Linked DNA regions of Homo sapiens: region 2 is linked to region 1. Evidence: promoter capture Hi-C in 16 types of primary human blood cells and fetal thymus (Javierre and others, 2016). All regions are on one chromosome and are shown on one strand. Each heading gives the region's core, a stretch centred on a gene start or on the middle of the fragment in contact. The rest is flanking DNA. Distances are from core to core; before and after follow the strand shown.

What was found. The method cuts DNA at HindIII sites, captures the fragments that hold promoters and counts their contacts. A CHiCAGO score of 5 or more calls a contact.
Region 2: the fragment with the promoter of ST7L here is called in contact with the fragment with the promoter of TTF2 in region 1 in 1 of 17 cell types (fetal thymus); the score reaches 5.7 in fetal thymus.

What each region holds. Positions count from the first base shown.
Region 1 is chr1:117,057,831-117,065,073 of GRCh38, reverse strand. TTF2 (transcription termination factor 2) reads right to left here and starts at 4,748. Exons shown (of 23, transcript NM_003594.4): 1 at 4,700-4,748; 2 at 4,517-4,619; 3 at 2,601-2,687. The coding sequence starts at 4,727. CD101-AS1 (CD101 antisense RNA 1) reads left to right here and starts at 5,584. Exons shown (of 4, transcript NR_110786.1): 1 at 5,584-5,701. RefSeq lists an enhancer at 5,048-5,207 and a silencer at 5,628-5,677. The HindIII fragment of the contact is 4,450 bases long and covers 583-5,032 here.
Region 2 is chr1:112,617,084-112,624,326 of GRCh38, reverse strand. It overlaps ST7L (suppression of tumorigenicity 7 like), which reads left to right and starts at 5,186. Exons shown (of 15, transcript NM_017744.5): 1 at 5,186-5,418. The coding sequence starts at 5,214. It overlaps CAPZA1 (capping actin protein of muscle Z-line subunit alpha 1), which reads right to left and starts at 4,495. Exons shown (of 10, transcript NM_006135.3): 1 at 4,444-4,495. The coding sequence starts at 4,482. RefSeq lists enhancers at 4,213-4,662, 3,815-5,014, 5,123-5,222. The HindIII fragment of the contact is 828 bases long and covers 4,863-5,690 here.

The DNA.
Region 1 (7,243 bases), core at 3,499-5,998:
TCAATGGAACAGATTAGCAACCCCAGAAATAGACTTACATATATTGGATCAATTGAATTTTTACAAAGACGCCAAGCATTTCAATGGGAAAAGGAAAATCTTCAAAACATGATGCTAAAACAATTGGTAACATATGCAAAAATAAATGAACCTCTACCCTACCTGATATACTACACAAAAGTAATTTAAGATATAGATAATAGACCTATATGAAAAAGCTACTAAAAAAAAAAAGAAGAAGAAAAAAAAAAAACAGGCCAGGTGCAGTAGCTCACACCTGTAATCCTAGCACCTTGGGAGGCCAAGATGTGTAGATTGCCTGAGCTCAGGAGTTCGGGACCAGCCTGGGCAACATGGTGAAACTCCGTTTCTACTAAAATACAAAAAAATTATTGGTGCACACCTGTAGTCCCAGCTACTTGGGACTACTTGGGAGGCTGAGGCATAAGAATTGCTTGAACCCAGGAGATGGTGGTTGCAGTGAGCCAAGATTGTACCACGGCACTCCAGCCTGGAAGACAGAGTGAAACTCTCTCTCTCAAAAACAAACAAACAAACAAACAAAAATAAAACTATAAAGCTTCTAGACAATTCTTGGAAATATTTGTGATATTGGGGTAGGCAAAGATTTCTTGGAGATCAGACAAAAAGCACAAACCATACAAAAATGATGAGCCTCCCGAGTAGCTGAGACTTCAGGAGTGTGCCACCAGGCCCAGCTAATTTTTTTTTGTTTTTTCACTTTTTTTTATTTAGTAGAGATGGGGTTTCACCATGTTGGTTGGCCAGGCTGGTCTCAAACTCCTAATCTCAAGTGATCTGCCCACTTCAGCCTCCCAAAGTGCTGGGATTACAGGCATGAGCCACCATGCCTGGCCTAACTTGTATAGAGAATTTACAAAGAACTCTACCAACTCAGTTTTAAAAAAAGACAAAAATTTTAAAACAGGCAAAGATCTCCAAAGTTATACTTTATGATTCCACTTATGTAACAATTGTGCAATGACAAAATTTTAGAAATGAAAAGCAAATTCCTGATTGCCGGAGTGAAGAGGGCAGAAGGGAGGGAAGGGGGTATGGTTATAGAAAGGGCAACAGAGAGATCCTGTGATGGAACTCTTCAGTACCTTGACTGTAGTGGTAGATACATGACTCGACAGGATAAAATTGTATAGAATATACACACACACATAAATTAGTTCAAGTAAAACTACCTTTACCAATAAAACTGGTGGGTTGTACCAATATTAATATCCTGTTTGTGATATATTTCTAAGCCTTGCAAACGTTACCATTGGGGGAAACTGGATAAAGTCTACAGGGGATAACTCTGTATTATTCCTTACAACTGTATGTGAATCTAAAACTACTTGATAAAAATTTCAATGCAAAAAAAAGGATAAAATATTTAAACAGATAACGTCGAGATTTTCTGATGGCAAATAGGCACACCAAACAAAGTGGTGCATTTATAAATGAAATTCAACTCCACAATAAAAATGAATGAATTACTGATACATATTATATACATTTCACATACTGTTAAGTAAAAGAAGTCAGACACAGAAGAGTACATGCAGTAGGATTTCATTTATATAACGTTCAAGAACAATCAAAACACATCTAAAGAGATAAAAATCAGAACAGTGATTGCTGACAGGGGTGGAGATGGGAGGGGTGAAATTAACTTGAAGGGGACTGATGGCACTTATTGGGGTAATATTTTGACTCGGATCTTGGTTTTATGAGCAGGTACATGCATTCTCAAAACTCAACTGGTTGAAATCTTAAGACTTGTGTATCTTACTATACATATAACTAAATTAAGAAAAATAGAAGTATGAACAGTACTCAGGTATATAAAAATTGTAGGTGGTACTCAAATGCCTTTAATTGGGTGGGGGGATCTAGAATATATAAATTATGAAGTGCATAGAATATCACACAAAGACCATCTATCACATCCTGACCCCTACCTTCCTGGCCAGCCTTATCGCCTAAAGTCTCTGTTTAAAGATATGTTAAACTATTAACAAATCAAATTTTCCCTGAAAATGCCATGTTAATTCATGCCTTAGTACTCTAATGCAATATATTAGTCCATTAAATATGACCTCTCTCTAACACTTAGGGAATTCCTACTTTATCTTTGAATACTCGTGACAAATATCTCCCAGCTCTATAGACTTCTCTGCCCTTCCCAAATTCCCATATAAAGGAAAAGAAACTAACATTTATTGAGGACTAAATATGTTTAGCCATTTTTACTCACTACCTTGTTCTATTACCAGAATTAGAAGATTGACAAGTTAAGGGCAAGTTAGTGGCCAATGGTCAGCTGTCATTATAGGCTACCTGACAGTTGGAGAGGGATGATTGTGGAGCCATTTACGTGAAAATTACTAGAAATCAGACTTCTCAGATTAACTAGCTGCTTGGTATTTAGGTAGTGACAGCCAAAAGACACTTAATACATATACAAATTTTGTTTTTTAAAATGACTTTTAAAGAACAATCCTAATACATACCTGGCTACAACTCTTTCAGGGAGAAAAAAAAAAAAAAGCAAATACACTTAGATGTTCCTTTTGGACCCTTACCTGTATTCTTTCTTGTCCTGTGGCAGAAGCAAACCCTGAAGCTCTACCACAAAGTCCTCATGCAATAAGCAATGGGAAACAGGAATGCTAGAGAAAAGAAAAAAGTTGAAAACATTTTTAGGTCAGGAACAGAGATCAATATCCTAAAGTCAAATCAAAACTATGGGTTTTTACACCAAGAATCTATGTATAACCTCTACTGGGTTTGTAATTCCCACACATTATCACAGCTATGGGCATTCCTTTGGGGAAGAAGTCCCTAGCTTTCATCTTTACCCACTTTCTCAAATAAAGCATAACTGTTTCTTGATGACTCAAAAGTTTAAAACCACACTGCACTGTGTAATCTCTACACTGGGATCCCCCTACGAATGACATAATTAGGGCTGGCTGTGAGGCCCTGTATGAATTTTCCCCAGGCTCTTCCCTTCATCCTTTCCCTCTAACAAGCTGAGAGCTGTCACTTAGTGTTATTCACACGCCTACCTCTAACAATACGCCCTATATGCTTCTTGTTTTGTGTAAGTTTTTAATCACTCCCTTCCAACTTATTATGAAAAAATTTAAATATATATAACATTTGAGAGTAAACAGGTTTGAGTGAAGGTTTAAAGTACTCTCCTAAACCTGTGGCACTTTTTTTGGCCTGTATATTGGTTATCAGATATAGTCCAAATAAATCAAGTTTATCAAATAATTGTCTTCAAATACCACTGTGCTAGTTTGTATAGCAAAGCATTTGTGTAGATGGGATCCTAAATAAGAGTGTTTCTCTTAATGTAAAACCAAATCTTATGCCACCATTAATGTTGAATTCCTGCAAAGGTAAAAATGCTTCTATCTCACAAAACTTGACCTGGGTACTATATCTGAGAGGCTCAGTGTAAATCATCTAACTCATGAAACAGAAACATGGGAAGTTAGTATACATGTTGAAAGGGCACTTTTCTAATACTGATATCCATTATGTACTCTACATCTGACACGGAGAAAAATAACTTTTCTCTACCAAGTTTTGCTGAATAGAGAGCAGGAGATGTTTAATGATGTGATGATAGTTTTAAAATTCACATAGAAAATGTAGACACTTGGTACTGTGAAAACATTAACACTTGACAAACTATTAACTTTCCTCACTTTAGAGAAGATGCTTAACATTTCTGACTCTCTCCTCCCACCTCAGCCTCACGAGTAGCTGGGACTACAGGCGTGTGATACCATGCCTAGACAATTTTTTTTAATTTTTCGTAGAGACGGGATTTCACCATGTTGCCCAGGCTGGTTTCGAACCCCTGGGCTCAAGCGATTCGCTCGCCTTCGCCTCCCAAAGTGCTGGGATTACAGGCGTCACACACCGCGCCAGGCCCTCCGTTGTTTCTTCCAGCGCTAATTTCTTTGAATTATCAATTTCACCATTTAGATGCAGAGAATCCTACTTAAAAATAAGAAGGCTAACAACTAATCACTAGAGTGTTTTAAGCTCAAACATTTAAAAAAAACCGTCGGGCCTAAAACTAGTGCAAAACAGGGACAAATTATTTTCCACTATGTCTGCTGTGTGTCCTTACTCCTTTAAAGGGGGAGGGACTGTCTGGGCAGGAGAAGGGAGTGGTTAAGGCCTGTCAAGTGAATAGAAACCCAGAGCTGGAAAACACCGGATCCTCAATTTTACAGGTAGGGGAACCATCGGCCCAGAGAGGGGGGTAACCAGCCTCGGGTCACACAGCCAGAATTAGCTGGGCGTCTTCCGAACACGCCACGCTGCCCTGGGATCACCAATTGCTTAAAGGGTCCTGACACCGCAAACTAGGGCCCCACCACTCCTCGGCCCTGTGACGCCCGACAGCGGGGAGCGGGAAGCTCCTCTCGGGAGGCCCCGGGCAGCCACAGGGAGTGGGGCCCAGCTCCAGACCTACTCGGTGGCCCGCACGAAGCTGCACGTGTCTGCCCGGCACACGTAGAAGCTCTTTCCTTTATTCGGGCCATCGCGGACGCCGGTCTTAAGAAAGCAGAAAGTCCCTGAAGAGAGAAGAAAGTGAACAACGATTACGCCACGCTAAATCAACAGGCCCCGGGACGCTGAGACCCTAGCCCCTTACCGTGCTCTGGACACCTAACTTCTTCCATTTCGCTGGGTCCCCCAAGTTCCACAAAGCCCCGCCCCCAATTCTGCTTCCGCCTTTTACTCCGCCCTCTTTGTTCAGGAACCAACCATCACTCAGCTCTTGCAGTCTTAATCCCTCCCATAATTCTCCGCCCTTGGCCTTCACCCGTCCTAGCCGCTATCAGCCAATCATATAGGAACTTCGCTCACCTCCAACCAATCACAGCTGCCCTCAGGTATGGCGCGCGCCGAAATCAAATACGGAGCCAGGGGGCGTAAAGGACCCGGCTTTTGCAGGCTGGGGCGTGGCTGAGGCTGGGGAGAAGCTTAGAAGGTGGCGGGGCTTCTGGAGGAAAAGAAGCTTCGATTTGCAGGTCTTGGAAGACGGAAGGGCAACTCTTGTTTACGTTTAAAACCGAGAGGCGGCCCTAGGGGTAGCGCCAGTTAGCAGGCGCTGAAAGGCCCTGGCTTCGTGGGTGTCTCTGAGCCAGGCTGGCGCTCGTGCGCGCTGGGCTCCGCGCTCAGTCGCTGGGGTGGGAGGCCAGGGGAAGCCGCCGCTGCAGGCCGAGCCGCGAGATTTGCAGTGCAGGAGCCGAAGCGGCGGGCATGGTGGGAGGTCCTTGGAAGCTGCTGCGGGGAACTGAAACGGCTCTGATAGGCAGGCACAAAGACTTCTCTAGGACCCCCTACAATGCTTTACGTTTGCCTCGTGCTTTAGATTTCACAAAGTGCTTACACATAACACGACCCTCCTCACTCGACCTGGTGAGATGGGTAGCATTTTGTGGAAGATTCCGAGACTCAAGTTTGAGAGACTCACCCAAGGTCAGAGTTGGCGAGTGGGCGGTCCGTGGACAGGTGCGCAGGTCTCAGCGCCATTTGGCCCGCGCTGCTGCTTCCTGTGTGTACTGGATGTTCTCTAGGCTCGCCCAGCGTGGAAGCCCCGAGTTACCAGCCGCAACGTGGAAACCACAGAAGGGGAAATAGATGACTTTTGGTGAAGGCGAATTTTACTTTATCATTTTGTATTGTCAAACTTTTTTTTACTATTATGCTTTTGTAATTTTAAAAATCGAAGACGAGGTTAAATAGAAGAAAGGGGACAGTTCCCTTCTATTTAACTTCATCCTCGATTTTTAAAATTTGAAGTTGTAATCAAAACTATTAGTAAACAGAGAGGAATAGATATTAGATTTATTGCAATAGAAATAGTTTCATATTGCAGCTATTGAGGACCATATGTCCCAGACATATGGTGTGGCACCTGCACTGTTCTTATGGGGGCCGTAGAACAGAAAATCTGTAATGTCTAGGAAATCTGGGCGATGTGATAAATGTACATGTTATGGGGATCCGGAGGAAGGGAGACAAACCTGAGGTATCATTTATTAATTAAACAGTACTTACTAAATAGCTTTTTTGTGCCCGTTGTGGACTAGGTGCTTGAGAAATGTAAAATTCATTCATTCACACACACAAAGTTTGAAACAACTATTCTAAGCACAAGGAACTTACTCAGTATTTTGAGGAGACTGAACTAGTACATGTTGAACACTTAAATAACAATATAAAATAGTATTTAAATGTCAAAATGAATGGAGTTAGCAGTAACTCTCTAGGACTAGAGAAAAATGGAATTTCCAAAGTGAAGTTCCTTTATACATAACTACCCTTCCGAAACTTAGATGAACTTAGAGATAAGACAGGAACAACAAATAGGTAGAAGCATTTTCATTATTCCAAGATTGTTATTCTTGCAAATGATGTATTTGTACATGTTTAATAGATGCTGTATTGGAGGTAGTATACCATGAATACAGGATTTGCAGAAAGAGGGGCATGGTAATTAATTATTTCTTGAATAATTTTCGAAACAAGGCAAAATCGGGGCCTCTTAAATATCCCGTTAAGGAAGAAGCTCCTCCTCTGCAAGTACCCAAGTCGGTATCTCCAGTCCAACCTCACAAAAGTGTGCACAGCCAAATCACAGACAGGAGGAATATTTCTTCCATAAATTAAAAATATACTAGATCAAAATGTTAAGTCCCTGGACAACTTATTCCACCTCATCATATTTACAAGATTGAAAAAAATAAGTTTGAGATTGGACGAAAGATGGTCATAACTGGAAACATTTTTAAAATTAATTTTTATGCCCGTTGAGTATGGTGGTGGGCACCTGCGGTCCTAGCTACTCAGGAGGCTGAGGTGGGAGGATGGCTTGAGCCCACAAGTTTGAGGCTACAGTGAGCTGTGATTGTGCCACTGCACTCTAGCCTTGGTGACAGAGTGAAACTTTGTCTCTTAAAAAAAAACTTATGCCTATTGAAATAAATAATAATGAATTATACAACATACACTTTTCAAAATATACACATGTATTGGTGTATGTGTATTAATTTTTATTCTTAATTTATATTTTAAATTTATATTGTTAATTAGCCTACAGACCCCCGGAGAGACCTTGGGAGAATGTGCTTTATGGATCTCTATTTTGAGTAAAGTTTAGAGTTTGTTTTTCCTTAAAGCTTGATTTATT
Region 2 (7,243 bases), core at 3,937-6,436, 4.4 Mb after region 1:
CATAATACCTCATTTATAATCCACTAAATGGATGTCTCTACTCTGGTTTTTCATTCATACCTATATGGAAAAGAAAAGTATAGTGAAAAAAGCATGGCTACATAATCAGAAAAACCTGGGATCTGAATTTTCTGACAAATTTACACTACTTTGTTTAGCATTAAGCCTGGTCGTAATAAAACAGCTAAGTGTTCTGGAAGAAATTATGATAAATCAGTACTACTAACAAGACTGGACATGTGAGTTTGCACCTGCTTATTAGGCTTTATGCTCCTGTCCTAGGATTTCTTTTTCTTTTCTTTTTTCTTTTTTTTTTTTTTTGAGATGGAGTCTTGCTCTGTCACCCAGGCTGGAGTGCAGTGGCACAATCTCGGCTCACTGCAAACTCTGCCTCCCGGGTTCACACCATTCTCCTGCCTCAGCCTCCCGATTAGCTGGGACTACAGGCACCTGCCACCACGCCCGGCTAATTTTTTTGTATTTTTAGTAGAGACGGTGTTTCACTGCGTTAGCCAGGATCTCGATCTCCTGAGGTCAGGTCTCGATCTCCTGACCTCGTGATCCACCCGCCTCGGCCTCCCAAAGTGCTGGGATTACAGGCATGAACCACCGCGCCCGGGCTTTCTTTTCTTTTTTTTTTTTTTTGAGACGGAGTTTCGCTCCTGTTGCCCAGGCTGGAGTGCAATGGCGTGATCTCGGGTCACCGCAACCTCCGCCTCCCAGGTTCCAGCGATTCTCCTGCCTCAGCCTACTGAGTAGCTGGGATTACAGGCATGTGCCACTGCGCCCAGCTAATTTTTGTATTTTTAGTAGAGATGGGGTTTCTCCATGTTGGTCAGGCTGGTCTCAAACTCCCGACCTCAGATGATGCACCTGCCTCGGCCTCCCAGAGTGTTGGGGTCACAGGCGTGAGCCACTGGGCCCGGCCTGTCCTAGGATGTCTTAACAGATTATATGAATACCTCTCAGCAAAACTAACTGAAAAGTGAAGATGGAAGAATGACAGTTTTAATATTAATTGATGACTTGTTAGAAAACAGCCACACCAAACAATCTTTAGGGCTTGCTTTATCCTACAATGGTAACTAGTAAATTAAGGAGGTAATACATAATCAAGGATCCAGTTTAAAAGCATAAATATTTGGCAGGTGCAGTGACTCACGCCTGCAATCTCGGCACTTTGGGAGGCCAAGGCAGGCGGATCACGAGGTCAGGAGTTTGAGACTAGCCTGACCAACATATTGAAACCCTGTCTCTACTAAAAATACAAAAAATTAGCCGGGTGTGGTGGCAGGTGCCTGTAATCCCAGCTACTTGGGATGCTGAGGCAGGAGAATCACTTGAACTCAGGAGGTGGAGGTTGCAGTGAGCCGAGATCGTACCACTGCACTCCAGCCCGCTGGGAGACAGTGCAAGACTTCGTTTCAAAAAAAAAAAAAAAAAGTATAAAATATTTTTCATGTGCTCTAACAAAGCCCTCATATTTCATCTATTTACAACATTTTCTACTGCTCTACTAAATAATTTTGATAAACTTGTTTCTCAAAAATGCCTTAACACCACTACCATTGTCTAAACTGAAAGCATGTAGTTTTTCTTAATACTGAAAACTTTATCTTATTACTGAAAGCATTGTCTAAACTGAAAGCATGACTTCTCAATTACCATACTTTTGAAATTGTACACAAATATTCCACTAGTTAGGCTGAAGGGAAAAAATATGCTAGTCACACTTTTTTCCAGCCCCCCAAAATTCTCTTTGCTTTTATGTTTTACAAATGTTGAATGAAATAAAGGAAATAGACAATGAAAAGAACCCAAAGAAGTAATTCATCTCATATTTCAGGATTCCTAATTATAGTATCTTGGTCTTGCTAAGCATGTAACTAAAGAGCTCAAGTTCATTCTCAGAAACTGTGAACTCAAAGCTACAACTAAAAGATTTATTTCTAAAAGTTATTACACTTTCAACTTCCTGTTTTATTTAGACAGCTCATCATGACCATTTCAGGTAACAAAACCCAACTTCCTCTTTATAAAGTGATTAAAAAAACTTCAGCAGTTATGAGAATAGATGATATTACTAGCTTTTACATAAATATTTACAAGGAAACTAAGAGTCCATTATCACCAAATTTTCTAAAGGTTCACTGCCTTTAGAAAATGTAACAAAGATAAAAAACAATATTAAAATATACTTGGCAACAAAAAAAGTATGCTAGAAGAGGAAACTGGTCACAGATCTGCTATTAAAAAAAACAATACTGGCTGGGCTCGGTGGCTCACGCCTGTAATCCCAGCACTTTGGGAGGCCAAGGCGGGCAGATCATGAGGTCAGGAGTTCGAGACCAGCCTGGCCAACATAGTGAAACCCCGTCTCTACTAAAAATACAAAAAATTAGCCAGGCTTGGTGGCGGGCGCCTGTAATCCTAGCTACTCGAGAGGCTGAGGCAGGAGAATCGCTTGAACCAGAGAGGCAGAGGTTGCAGCGAGCGGAGATCGCACCACTGCACACCACCCCGGGTGACAGAGCGAGACTCCATCTCAAAAAAAAAAAAAAAAAACCATAACCCAAGACATTAATGTTATTAATTAAAACACTGCCAGTATCTAAAGGCATCTTAATTGGCATTTTAAAATATATATTTTCCCAAGTTTAATTAAAGGCATTCTAACCTGGTATCAAAGACAAAAATCCAACAACACTGGTCAATGTGTATCAGGTAGGCACAATAAACTTAAAAGTTTATTATTTAAATTATTTGTGAAATTTTGGCCGGCCGCGGTGGCTTACGCCTGTAATCCCAGCACTTTAAGTGGCGAAGACGGATGGATCGTTTGAGCCCAAGAGTTTGAGACCGGCCTGGGCAACAAGACGAAACCCACTCTCTACAAGAAATACAAAAATTAGCTGGACTTGGTGGCGGGTGCCTGTAATCCCAGCTACTCGGGAAGCTGAGGCAGGAGAATAATTTGAACCAGGGAGGCGGAAGTTGCAGTGAGCCGAGCGAGACTCCGTCTCAAAAAAAAAAAAAAATTGTTTAGTTGTATTGTAACAGGATTTTTGCTTAATTTTATTTGAATAGTAACTATTTGCCTTAGAACAATTTATTATAGATCGATTTCCAGCATAGGCTTATACATAAATGTTTTTGTCCTAAATCTTAAACATGTATGAAGATCAGTTTCCAAATAAGAGAAAATCTAACGCTGTTGTCAATGGCTTGTTAAACATTTCAAAATGGCATGCCATATCTACATATATCAAGTTATTCCGTACAGAGGACTTATGGATCATAACAGTCCCCTTCCCATCCCAACTTCTTATTGAAAAAAACACCCAGGTAGATTTACAGAGCACTCAAGGGGACACATTTTCTAATAGCCACAGTGGGAGACAAATGTCATAATTCTTGTCCAATAAGTTGCCTTGTGAGGTCATTCTAAGTTCTACGTGCCCTAAAACCATGTACTTACTGAAAAGCCTGACAAACTGTTATGAAACTGTGCAACTGTCAGAAGAAAAGTTATTCCACCTTAGAATGTGCTCTTGTATTTAAGACCCTTTTCAAGAAATGAGCATACAAAATGCACACTGACAAATTCAACTGATCAAAGACTCCACAGTGGAGCATCAAAGAAGGCAGGATGCTTTGTTCAGTCTTGAACGTGTTAACATAAGGTTTATTATGTGTTACAGAAAACCTTTCTGGAGGTTAAGAAAATCCATCAGCTATTCTAGATTTGTTAACAAGAAACAAAATTTTCAAAAATTATCGTTAAAAGGGATGTGTCTATAGGGAAAGACTGGTGTTCAAATTCTGAAGCAAATGCCCTGAGGCTCACAGATTTATTATAGCGAATCAGACAGGCGACAGTACAGGAGAAAAGTAGTGCATGTGTAGGGAGATGGACAACATTTGGGACCTCTCCTTGTCGAAGAGTCGTGACAGCAAAATCACTTCCTGAGGAAGGAGGAGCAAAAGGGAAGTTAAGAGGCCATCCTGACCAGGAAGTGACTCGCCCTAAACTAACCCCAATTATATCTACAAATGGGGGGATGGGGTGAGCCCCAACTGCTAAAGGCGGTAAAATAACTGCTTTTTGATATGTCGCAACATAACCACCACCCTCTCGCAAAATTACAGAAAAAAGTCCACAGTCACGATCCAATAAAGGAAACGTCTGTTCCCTTGCAGGGAGGCCCCTGGGCTGTGCCTCAGGCCTGAGAGAAAAGGAGAGTCGAGGAACGAGGAACTGGGGCCACCGTGAGGCAGAGGAAAGCCCCCTAAGAGGGAAGCGTCCCGACTGCGGAGAGCGTATGTCAGCATGGACCAAGAAGCTTCTTTTTCCTGGGGACACTGCTAGGCTCCCAACGCAGCCGGGCCGGGCCCCAGTTCCCTGTCGGGGGAGGAGGTAAGAGAGAGAGGCGGACCCCTTACCTTCTCCTCATCCGACACACGATCATCGAAGTCGGCCATCTTGGGCTGTTCTGGCCCAGCCCGGCTACGGGCGCGAGGCAGGCCGGGAAGAAAGCCGAGTGATGGAATCACCGCGGCGGCCGTCGGAAGGACCCGCCCGGAAACGCCGACCAAGAGGGCCCCATGTCAGTTATGCGCGGGAGTGACGTCTCCTAACGCCAGCGCCCGCGCCCGCGCCCCAGGAAGTAGGGTTTGCCTTAGGTGATTTGAAGTCTAATATCTTTCCCAATGAGTTACACTCATTTCCCATCCATCTAATGGGCGCTGGCAGCGTGTTTCGATTATTCTTGGCTTCTGGCCTCCATCCGACCAAATAGCTGTTGCTACTCCTACAAGTTTTTCTGGTGCCCGTTATCTCCACGACAGCCGAATCCAAAGCTTTAAGAGCTGCTCGGCAGCTGGAACGATCGGTGGCTTTTCCAACCCCGGGGGGGGGGCGGTGTGAAAGGTGACCCTCATTTCGTTTGGAAGCGGTAACACTTCGGGGTCACATCTCAGTCCAGTTCCTCCAGAATAGGCGCTGCTGTCCGCCCCTTCCCTGCCCCACGAAAGAACAGGTAGCCCCAATCTTGAGACACGCTCCTCCACCTTCGAAATCTTCTCGGTCCCGGTTCCCCAGGACTCAGCCTTCACAGAGGCCAACTTCAGGTCCGCCACTATCCCAGGATTCCCGACTCCCGGTTTCCTGTCCTTCTCCCCTCCCAGCTCCTGGCGCCTGCGATAGCGGCAAGATGGCGGACCGTGGCGGCGTGGGTGAAGCCGCAGCTGTTGGAGCGTCTCCTGCATCTGTCCCTGGCCTAAACCCGACGCTAGGCTGGAGGGAGCGACTGCGGGCCGGGCTGGCGGGGACTGGGGCCTCGTTGTGGTTCGTGGCGGGGCTGGGGCTGCTTTACGCCCTGAGGATCCCTTTGAGGCTGTGTGAGAATTTGGCAGCGGGTGAGAGGACCAGACCTCCTGGGGCAGGGCGGGGGGCCAGGAGAGATGTCGGGGGCAAGAGCCAAAGGGCAAGAGATTCTCGGTAGTCCTAGAGGGCCTCTGAGGAGTCGATGATGAGCGATCAAGTGAGTTCTTTTTCTTTTGGGCTGCAACCTTGCAGTTGATTGACAAGCCTGCTGCCGTTACCGGCTCCTCCGTAGAACTCTTAAGGTCCGCCCTCTCTCTTATGTCCTCGTTTTTCCATGGAAAAGCCACCTGACAAGCTATAAGCTTCAGGTATTAGGACAGAAGAGTGTCTCAGATTAGGATACGTAATTTATATTGGCTCCCCCACCTCTGGTAGGATCCCTTAAAAGTCACTACTTTGAGTCTCCCGCTGCCCAGCTGAAAGAACTCATATCCAGGCAACAAAGATGAGCACATCTGTAATTTAAAGATTTCAGAGAAAGAAAATGGCATGATTTTAATTGAGGATTCTCTTGTTTTAAAATAGTTCTGTTAAGAAATCGTTTTCGTGATAGTTTTGTCTGTTCTTTTAGGCTTATCTTGAGTAATAAAATAGTACAGGAAGTGAGAGCGCCACAAACAACAGTGGGTTTGCTAGTTCTTTCGACGTCTGTAGAACACTTGCTACGTATTCTGTGCTGACAATACGAACACATGTAAGAAGTGATGATCCTGATGGATTCTCATATACTGTACTATTCTTTAGCTGTAGACAGGATGAAGTGTTTAGGGCCCAGGTCCCCTTACCATGTGATTATATTTCACTCAAGATCTGAGCAGCAACCTCAGAACAAGATATAAGTATTTCCATTACATGATTCAGTATGGTGGTTGATTTTTCTGAAGCAAAAGGCAGCAAATGTCCCCTTTCCTGTTCAGAGATGACATGAAAGACTGTGAGTTAATGTTCGGAAATATTTTGGTTTTTTTGGAGGATAGGTATCAAGTTCAAATATAACTAGCACTCTAAAATAAGCTAAACTGAAGAGCTAATTTGGCATCTCTGTAACAGGTGAATGAAGTGCTTAACGGTGGTTTCTATGCACAGTGTTACTGATTGACTTGTCATTTATTTTTCTACGTTAACCATATGCAACATTTAGATGAGAATAGTTGATTACTATAGATTTTTCTTTTTTACGTTTCGTGTGTGTGTGTGTGTGTGTGTGTGTGTGTGTGTGTGTGAGAGAGAGAAAGACAGACAGAGTCTCCCTTTGTCACCCAGGCTGAAGTGTAGTGGCAAGATCACTGCAGCCTTGAACTCTTCTGCTTAAGCGATCCTCTGGCCTCAGCCTCCCAAGTAGCTGGGACTGCAGGCGTGCACCACCACGACTGGCTGAGTTTTAAATTTTGCGTAGAGACTGGGTCTATTTTATTTGCCCAGGCTGGTCTTGAACTTCTGGCTACCAGTGATCCTCCTGCCTTGGCCTCCCAAAACTCTGAGATTATGGGAGTGAGCCATCCTACCTGGCCAGATTTTTATTTTCTTTCTAAAACCCACAGTACTTATGAGATAATTATTTGAAGTGAAAAATCTGCTCCAGGATTTCAGTAACTCAGGGAGATTTCTGTTTGTTGCTTTTCTCTTTGAGCCATTTTGCCTCTCTAGCTGATATACCAAATACATATGCTGTTTCCTTCCCTCTAATTTGAGACAGTGGTTTTGTATCCTACCAAAATAAATATGGAGTAGTTTTGAACCTCCTTTGTAAAAGCATATTTATCTTTTTATTCTTACAGACTTGCAAAAGTTCTATCTAAATTATGACTTATAAGTGCTTTAGTTTTATTCTCCAAAGCAAGCTGAATTACCTCATTT